Linked DNA regions of Homo sapiens: region 2 is linked to region 1. The links are contacts of gene promoters, found by promoter capture Hi-C in blood cells and fetal thymus (Javierre and others, 2016). All regions are on one chromosome and are shown on one strand. The core of a region is centred on a gene start or on the middle of the fragment in contact, and the rest is flanking DNA. Distances in the headings are between cores, read along the strand shown.

The links. The method cuts DNA at HindIII sites, captures the fragments that hold promoters and counts their contacts. A CHiCAGO score of 5 or more calls a contact.
Region 2: a contact is called between the fragment with the promoter of MALINC1 here and the fragment with the promoter of EGR1 in region 1, in 1 of 17 cell types (fetal thymus). The highest score is 6.0, in fetal thymus.

What each region holds. Positions count from the first base shown.
Region 1 is chr5:138,463,512-138,468,028 of GRCh38, forward strand. It overlaps EGR1 (early growth response 1), which reads left to right and starts at 1,968. Exons shown (of 2, transcript NM_001964.3): 1 at 1,968-2,557; 2 at 3,246-4,517. The coding sequence starts at 2,251. RefSeq lists silencers at 572-841, 1,162-1,561, 1,572-1,921, 2,012-2,221 and enhancers at 754-1,953, 1,026-1,866, 1,867-2,706. The HindIII fragment of the contact is 6,642 bases long and covers 1-4,517 here.
Region 2 is chr5:140,105,748-140,110,264 of GRCh38, forward strand. MALINC1 (mitosis associated long intergenic non-coding RNA 1) reads right to left here and starts at 2,265. Exons shown (of 4, transcript NR_102741.1): 1 at 1,662-2,265; 2 at 549-743; 3 at 1-15. It overlaps LOC124900193, which reads right to left and starts at 3,522. Exons shown (of 4, transcript XM_047417990.1): 1 at 2,037-3,522; 2 at 549-714; 3 at 1-32. The coding sequence starts at 3,238. The coding sequence ends at 2,312. RefSeq lists enhancers at 1,365-1,464, 2,575-3,076 and silencers at 1,995-2,064, 2,095-2,154, 2,165-2,424. The HindIII fragment of the contact is 3,432 bases long and covers 7-3,438 here.

The sequences.
Region 1 (4,517 bases), core at 718-3,217:
CGCATCACTCCTGCCCCAATGGACAACTCGGTAGACAGTGGGAGTGAGCCCCCCACCTCCCCAGCGGACTTGAGACGGCAGGCTCCGAGACGAGGGAGTCCTGGTTCATTAAGTTGGTTTTTATAAGAAAACATGTTTGGAGGGGGGACAGCCACAGAGGGATTAAGTCCAAGAAAGTTACACCCTCCCCCACCTAATCCCCCTGACCCCGACCTCCAGAGGCTGTTGGGGTTCACAGAGGCCCTCACCTCCTCCCTTCCCTCTCGGTGTCGTCAAGCACCCTCCTTCCCCACATTCTCTTTCTGCTTTCTTTTTAAATCCAGAAAAAACAGCACCTCCTCTGGATTCAGAGCTAGAGCAGGAGGAGCCTTCCCTTCCCGGAATCCCTGTTCCCTTTGGGGTGAGCAACTGACTGCGTCGTGGGGGCGGGGAGGGCTTCCCTGTTCGCGTTCGGCCCCAGGGAGACCTGCGGGAATCGTTCTCCCTCGCCACCACCCACCCCCTGCTTCCTTCTCCCCCTCGCCTTGGCCAGGCTCGGGGTGAGGAGTGTTATCCCGGAGTCTGGGCGCCTCGGCAGTGACGGCTCCCCAGGGACTGCAGGGGGAGCCCGGGCTGCAGCGCCTGCTCAGTTCGTGCTCACTGCGTCGAAGGCTCCCCCGGCCTGGCTCCGCGCCCAGCGCCGCATCCGGGAGGAGGAGCGAGGAGGCGGCGGAAGAGCCCGCGCGGCCGGAGTCCGGGGCTGGGAGTGGAGAGGGAACCTCCAGGGGGCAGCACCGAGCCGCCAAGCCGGTCCTCTCTTCGCGCCCAGCCCGGGGTCCCCAGACAGCCCATAGGGAAGCCCCTCTTTCGGATTCCCGCAGTGTGGGCCGGCCCTCCACCTGGACTGGATAAAGGGGGGAAAGTGACCCCTCACCACAAGGACCATTATCTCCTGGTGAGAACAAGAATCAGGCCTCTCTTGGGGCAATCAGCTTCCCCACTTCGGTCCCCCAAAGGTGGGCTCTTTGCCGGCGGGGACTAGGGAACAGCCTTTCGGTTCCGGGGGAGCACAGGGGACCCCAGGCACCAGCAGCCCCATCCCACCGACAGGTGGCAGAGGCAAGGCAGCTCACTGCTATACAGTGTCCCAAGAACCAAGTGGCCGTGACTTCCTATCCTCAATTTCCCAGCGACACCCGGAAAGACACCGTGCCATAGATCGAGGCCCGGGGTCAAGGCCCCGCCTCTCCTGGGCGGCCCCTGCCCAGGCGGGCCCAGCCGCTCCTCCCCCGCACTCCCGGTTCGCTCTCACGGTCCCTGAGGTGGGCGGGCGGGCCCTGGATGACAGCGATAGAACCCCGGCCCGACTCGCCCTCGCCCCCGCTCTGGGTCTGGGCTTCCCCAGCCTAGTTCACGCCTAGGAGCCGCCTGAGCAGCCGCGCGCCCAGCGCCACACGCCACGAGCCCTCCCCGCCTGGGCGTCCCCGGATCCCGCGAGCGCTCGGGCTCCCGGCTTGGAACCAGGGAGGAGGGAGGGAGCGAGGGAGCAACCAGCTGCGACCCGGAAATGCCATATAAGGAGCAGGAAGGATCCCCCGCCGGAACAACCCTTATTTGGGCAGCACCTTATTTGGAGTGGCCCGATATGGCCCGGCCGCTTCCGGCTCTGGGAGGAGGGAAGAAGGCGGAGGGAGGGGCAACGCGGGAACTCCGGAGCTGCGCGGGTCCCGGAGGCCCCGGCGGCGGCTAGAGCTCTAGGCTTCCCCGAAGCCTGGGCGCCTGGGATGCGGGCGCGGGCGCGGGCCCTAGGGTGCAGGATGGAGGTGCCGGGCGCTGTCGGATGGGGGGCTTCACGTCACTCCGGGTCCTCCCGGCCGGTCCTGCCATATTAGGGCTTCCTGCTTCCCATATATGGCCATGTACGTCACGACGGAGGCGGACCCGTGCCGTTCCAGACCCTTCAAATAGAGGCGGATCCGGGGAGTCGCGAGAGATCCCAGCGCGCAGAACTTGGGGAGCCGCCGCCGCCATCCGCCGCCGCAGCCAGCTTCCGCCGCCGCAGGACCGGCCCCTGCCCCAGCCTCCGCAGCCGCGGCGCGTCCACGCCCGCCCGCGCCCAGGGCGAGTCGGGGTCGCCGCCTGCACGCTTCTCAGTGTTCCCCGCGCCCCGCATGTAACCCGGCCAGGCCCCCGCAACTGTGTCCCCTGCAGCTCCAGCCCCGGGCTGCACCCCCCCGCCCCGACACCAGCTCTCCAGCCTGCTCGTCCAGGATGGCCGCGGCCAAGGCCGAGATGCAGCTGATGTCCCCGCTGCAGATCTCTGACCCGTTCGGATCCTTTCCTCACTCGCCCACCATGGACAACTACCCTAAGCTGGAGGAGATGATGCTGCTGAGCAACGGGGCTCCCCAGTTCCTCGGCGCCGCCGGGGCCCCAGAGGGCAGCGGCAGCAACAGCAGCAGCAGCAGCAGCGGGGGCGGTGGAGGCGGCGGGGGCGGCAGCAACAGCAGCAGCAGCAGCAGCACCTTCAACCCTCAGGCGGACACGGGCGAGCAGCCCTACGAGCACCTGACCGCAGGTAAGCAGTGGCCTACGCCGAGGGGGAACCCTTTCGCCACCATCCTGGCGTCCTGTCCTTCACCGCAGGAGTGCTCCTGGATCTTAGAATGAGAGCCGGGTTTCCCTTTCATTCCTCGCATCCCCAGAGTCATGTGTTAGAGGGATGCCAAGGAACCCCACACAGCCCACCCCCTGCCCTCATCCCTAGCGGAGCGCAGAGGACCGAGCTTTTGTTTTGGATGGAGAGCTCTGGAGCTGCGTGGGTGGGTGGAGGGGGAGGGCTTGTTTTGATGAGCGGGGCTGCGCCCCCCACCTCCAGTAAGACTTGCCTTGCCTTGCTTGCCGCCTGTCCCCAAGGAAGGACCGTGATCCTTGGCCGTGGATGTCCCGGCAGCCCGGGTTTGGGGGCGCGCACTAGCCGCGGCCATGGGGGTGCTGGCGGGAATCCCTCGCCCGCACAGCCGCCGCTGCGGAGCGCTGCGAGCTGCAGTGGAGGGGGATTCTCCGTATTTGCGTCAGCTGTTGTTGAAATGGGCTCTGCCACTGGTGCGGGTCCAGGAACATTGCAATGTGCTGCTATCAATTATTAACTACCTCGGGAGTCAATGGTAGCCGGCCCGGTCTCTTGCCTGGCAGCTCGGGTCGTCCTCGTCCTCCAGTGATTGCTTTCCAGTAACCAGGCCTCCCGCTTCTCTCTCTCCTGCCAGAGTCTTTTCCTGACATCTCTCTGAACAACGAGAAGGTGCTGGTGGAGACCAGTTACCCCAGCCAAACCACTCGACTGCCCCCCATCACCTATACTGGCCGCTTTTCCCTGGAGCCTGCACCCAACAGTGGCAACACCTTGTGGCCCGAGCCCCTCTTCAGCTTGGTCAGTGGCCTAGTGAGCATGACCAACCCACCGGCCTCCTCGTCCTCAGCACCATCTCCAGCGGCCTCCTCCGCCTCCGCCTCCCAGAGCCCACCCCTGAGCTGCGCAGTGCCATCCAACGACAGCAGTCCCATTTACTCAGCGGCACCCACCTTCCCCACGCCGAACACTGACATTTTCCCTGAGCCACAAAGCCAGGCCTTCCCGGGCTCGGCAGGGACAGCGCTCCAGTACCCGCCTCCTGCCTACCCTGCCGCCAAGGGTGGCTTCCAGGTTCCCATGATCCCCGACTACCTGTTTCCACAGCAGCAGGGGGATCTGGGCCTGGGCACCCCAGACCAGAAGCCCTTCCAGGGCCTGGAGAGCCGCACCCAGCAGCCTTCGCTAACCCCTCTGTCTACTATTAAGGCCTTTGCCACTCAGTCGGGCTCCCAGGACCTGAAGGCCCTCAATACCAGCTACCAGTCCCAGCTCATCAAACCCAGCCGCATGCGCAAGTACCCCAACCGGCCCAGCAAGACGCCCCCCCACGAACGCCCTTACGCTTGCCCAGTGGAGTCCTGTGATCGCCGCTTCTCCCGCTCCGACGAGCTCACCCGCCACATCCGCATCCACACAGGCCAGAAGCCCTTCCAGTGCCGCATCTGCATGCGCAACTTCAGCCGCAGCGACCACCTCACCACCCACATCCGCACCCACACAGGCGAAAAGCCCTTCGCCTGCGACATCTGTGGAAGAAAGTTTGCCAGGAGCGATGAACGCAAGAGGCATACCAAGATCCACTTGCGGCAGAAGGACAAGAAAGCAGACAAAAGTGTTGTGGCCTCTTCGGCCACCTCCTCTCTCTCTTCCTACCCGTCCCCGGTTGCTACCTCTTACCCGTCCCCGGTTACTACCTCTTATCCATCCCCGGCCACCACCTCATACCCATCCCCTGTGCCCACCTCCTTCTCCTCTCCCGGCTCCTCGACCTACCCATCCCCTGTGCACAGTGGCTTCCCCTCCCCGTCGGTGGCCACCACGTACTCCTCTGTTCCCCCTGCTTTCCCGGCCCAGGTCAGCAGCTTCCCTTCCTCAGCTGTCACCAACTCCTTCAGCGCCTCCACAG
Region 2 (4,517 bases), core at 1,015-3,514, 1.6 Mb after region 1:
TTCATAAGCTTGATGCTGTTAATTAGGAAAAACTGCATCGGAATTTTTAAATTACAGTTGAGTACAAGCAACTATATAACTAGCAACTTCGAACCTGTAAATGCTTGATAAATATGCAGTACTGAGAAAGGATGGTTTGCTTTGGAAGGTTATCTTGTCCTATGTTTCAATAAAAGACAAGGTTTAAAGAGATGCTACTTGCTCCTCATACACCTAAAAAACTTTTTTCTTGAAACTTTCTAATGTTTTCCCTCCGTAGCTCCATGTATTTTATTAATGTGTCTGATAGCCTTTGTTTTTCCTCCTCTAGAACCTCCAAGTTTTCTAATTCTCAGCTATGATTTTAGATCATTAAATCACCAGTTTCTAATCTCCACAATACAGTTGGAAACATTTAGGACAGAATATCCTTTAGGATATTAAGATGCAGAAGACTGTACTTCGAAGGATATTTATATAGTAGTGCTGCCACCTAAAGATGAGGTGAATATAAAGAAGCAATTCAAAGGAAATGACCCATCACCCTTAAGCCAGTCTCATTTTCTCACCTCCAGCTAGGAATTAATAAGCGTGTTGCTGTTGTTGTTGTCATTAACAGGGAAGTTGAACTGTTTCGCAATCACTTATTTCTGAGCTTTAATCCTCTGTGCCAGATAATTTCAGACTCAAACCTTTTCTAGTCCTCTGCGATTCTTCTCAGCCATCAGGCACTGCCTACAATACGTAAGAGGCAGCAAAAGATACTTGGAAAAAAACAATTGAGAGATTTCTGGTTTAGTGAATAAAGCAGGCAATAATAGACCTTAGAGTTTTCCCTTTATCAGTGATAGACTCCTCACAATGCTGAACAACTGACTTACATTTTGATAACTAAATTTTCATCTGTAAAATGGGAGTAATTATACCTTAGTCCTACTTGCCTCGCAGGCTCAACTAGATATGCTTCTGGGAAAGATTCTCTAACAAGTGAGTTTAAAAGTCTACCACTGCCTAACAAAGAGGGATTTTGTGGTATATTTGCAAAGTAACTTCAAAACAAAATAGTTAAATAGGTTGAGGCAATGATTAAGTTTTCCTAAATCACAGTTTGACTTCTCGGAGGTCTATTTAAATAATGATAAAGATGATAAATGCAGTTTTTATTTTGCTGCAGTTATTAGCTGATCCACGTTCCATCTACGTATTCAGTGTTGCAGGATGGAGACGTGACAGCGTAGAAAGCGAGCAAAAGCGTTACCGTGCACCAAAAATCTTGTCAAACTTGATACGATTTCAAGAAGACTGTCTTAAAGGACATTTTATAATTTCACATTTAGCCCTTGCATAGCATTTTATGAAAATTAACTTTTACCCTTTCCCCCTCGGCCCAAGGAAGTCGCATTCCCTCAAAGGGGCCCGGCTTCAACATATTACACTGCGTGGGAGGCTGGGCAGCAACCCCACGCTTCCTGTCAAGGATTCCTGGGGCCAGAGCCTGAAAAGTGCTCTAGCCACTCTTCTCTATGCTAATTCTGTCCTTCCGACCCCTCTTGGCGGGTGTCTGAGGGCCAAGGTGAGACTTTCCCCGGAGATGAAAGGCCTATTGCCTCTTCAGAGACCCGGGCGGAGTTGGGGCGGGGGTGCCGCGTGATAGGGTGGTAGCAGAAGTCGCAACGACGCACAGGGCCCTAAGTTGGAGCTGGCGCAGGCCCTTCAGGGTTCTATCCCCGCCAGAGCCTGGCTTCGGCCTTCAGAAGCCAAACGAGTAATAGGTCCTTCTGGGGCGCTGTGGGCGGTGGGTGGAGGAAGTGTGGGCGGAGAGGCCACAGACATCCCCCTCCTCAGACGCGCCCCAAGGCCTGGCCCGCGGAATGTTGACGCGCCAGGAGCCGATAGGGCGCGCTCACGCGCGAGAAGGGGGCGGAAAGAGCGCGCTCGGCGGCCGCCGCGGCGGCAGCTAAAACGGAGGGACGCGAGAGCGAAGGGCGCGAGCCACGGAGTTGGGAGGAGGGGTGGGGAACGCGGAGCGCGCGCTGACGTCGCCTGGAGTCACGCACGGAGCGCCGGGTTACGCGCCGACGTCTGGCTGCCACGACTTGCCGTCTGCGGCGGCGGCGGCGGCGGCGAGCGGATCCCGCAGGGGAAGGAGGAGGAGGAGGGAGAGCCAAGGGGGCTGTGAGTGAGCGGGAGAAGCAGGGTGTGAGCCGGACTTGCCCATGGGAGGGAGAGCGAGCGAGAGCCGAGCCAGCCATCCGAGCCGCCTCCTCCTCCTCCCCTCGGCGTCCCGCCCCCGCCCGCCAGCCCGCCCTCCTTCCTCCTCAGCCCGCAGAGCCTAAGTGAGGCGCAGCTCGGCTAGCGCCGCTGTCCAGGACAGGTGTGCGCGCGCGCGCCCTCCTCCCCTCCCCCCTTCCTCGCGCCTGTCTCGCGCGCGCCCTCCCTCCCGCCAGCCTGCGCCCTCCCTCACCTGCGGCAGGACAGCGCCCGCCCGCCCGGGTAAGCCCCTCGCGACCTTCCCTGCTGCCACTGCCACAGCTCCAGGTGACGCTCGCCCCGTCCCCTTTACTTGCTCTCTCAGCCCAGGAATAATTATAGTACCATTGCAGACATCCCCGCACCCTCCCTCTTGGAGACCCAGGCGGTGCAGCAACGTTCTCTCCCACCCCCCGCAGCGAGAAACGAATGAACCCCCTCCTACTTTCAAAAGAGAACAAAATAACACGCCCCTTAAGAAAAGAGGCGATCCTACCTCCGCAGGCGCTGGAGACCACCAGTGATGCGTTTGCTTAGCAATCCCTGAGCCCCATTTCCCCTGGCCGCCTTCGCCCTGGGGCCTGGGACTGTGCGCTAGACGTGGCTGACACTCCCTGCACGGCAACCCTGGAAGGAGGGAGAGGAAGGAGAGTTCTATAACCCAGGCTTCACTGCCAACCCCTCCTCTGTTCGGTTCCCCCCACCCCACTACCACCAAATGCATACACCCGCCCAGGATGCGTTGTAAAAACAAAACAAAACCAGGAAAAAAAAAAAAAAAACCTTTGGTGCTGACATCGCAGATGAAGCCGGGCCCAAAGATGGGTGGCCCGAACAAGGCATTTTTACTGCCCCACAGCGCTGGGTCAGCTCCACAGCTCCTCTGCCTTTGTCCGAGGGCAAAAGGAACGGATGTGAAGCTGAGGGGTCTTCTCTGTGAGCGGCGGTGGGCCCCGGAGGCGGGCTGTGATGTTTGTAGGGGAAGGCACCCAACCAATATATCTGCCATAAACCTGAACTTGGGTTGGAGAGCCCCCAGAGACTGGCTGGGGTAACTGGTTCGTAGCTGTCTACCCCGGAATAAATGCCACCTTCTTTTCCGCGGTGTCTGCGGGACCCTCTGTTGGGGGTTCTAATTCGTTTTGGCCTGGGCTCCTTACATTTCTGTCCGGCCAGGCGCTTTTGGACAGCTTTTCGCAGCGGTGTCTAAGCTTGTGTTCGGTGTCCTTGGAAGGGAGGTCCCAGAGCTTTACAATAGGCTGGATTTGGTTTGACATCTTTTGGTGGACTGTCAAAGGGGAAAGGAAATTTTTGGATTACTTCAAGATCCCCCACCGCCCCCGCCCAACTGACGTTTGCGAATTGCGGCTTTGGAAATTGGAGTGTTGACTAGAGTGTGGAGAGAGAGTTGCTGATTTCATTGCTTTGAGTACTAGTAAAACCATTTAAGTATCAGCCGGAAGGGAGACAGCTATTGACATTTACATCGGTTCTGTTTGGACCTTTGGGGTACATAAAATGTCGGGTTCTCTGAATTTTTTATCGAATTTAGAATGTCTGCTACATTTATTTAACTTCTGCAAATGCTTAAAATGAAAACATTTTGGAAATGCGAGGATTTTTATCAAGTGGATTGTTCTCTTCATATATTAAATGTTTACTTCATATCTTTAATCCGAAACATTAAAATAGCATTGAAGAGGCATGATTTTCAAGATTAAGTGAGCTATGGAAAAGGAATACGCTTTTAAAGAACGATCTGGGAAATGCTGTTACTATTAGTCATTGTTGTTGTTAAATGTTAAGATTTATTTGAGAGTTTCTCAATTTTTTTGGTAGACAGTCATGAGAAGAAATGGCTAATTCCTCCACTTTGAACATTTACAGTACAACATCCCAGTTAGTTTTAATGATTTGGGTATTGAAGATAGTTGTCTGGTTTAAGACTGGTATTTAATCTAAGTATCACTTGAAAACACAAGCTCTAATGTTCTTTATTTTGGAAATTTGTGATTTTGTAAAATATTAATCAACATATTGTTTCTATTAGGAACTCTATAATCAGAAGGGTTTACTACCCAGAGGTAGACAACCTCTTTCCAAGTCTATTTTATAAATGTGTGTTGATTTTTACTTTATAAAACCAAAACTGAATTAGATTATTTCAGAATCACCTGTAGTCAGGCTGAAGAAAATTAAAGCTTTTTTCTTTTTTGTTCTGCCTAATGTGTATTTCTTTGCGCACAATTTTTTGTTGGTAAGAGTTTGTTAAATACATAGAGACAGTG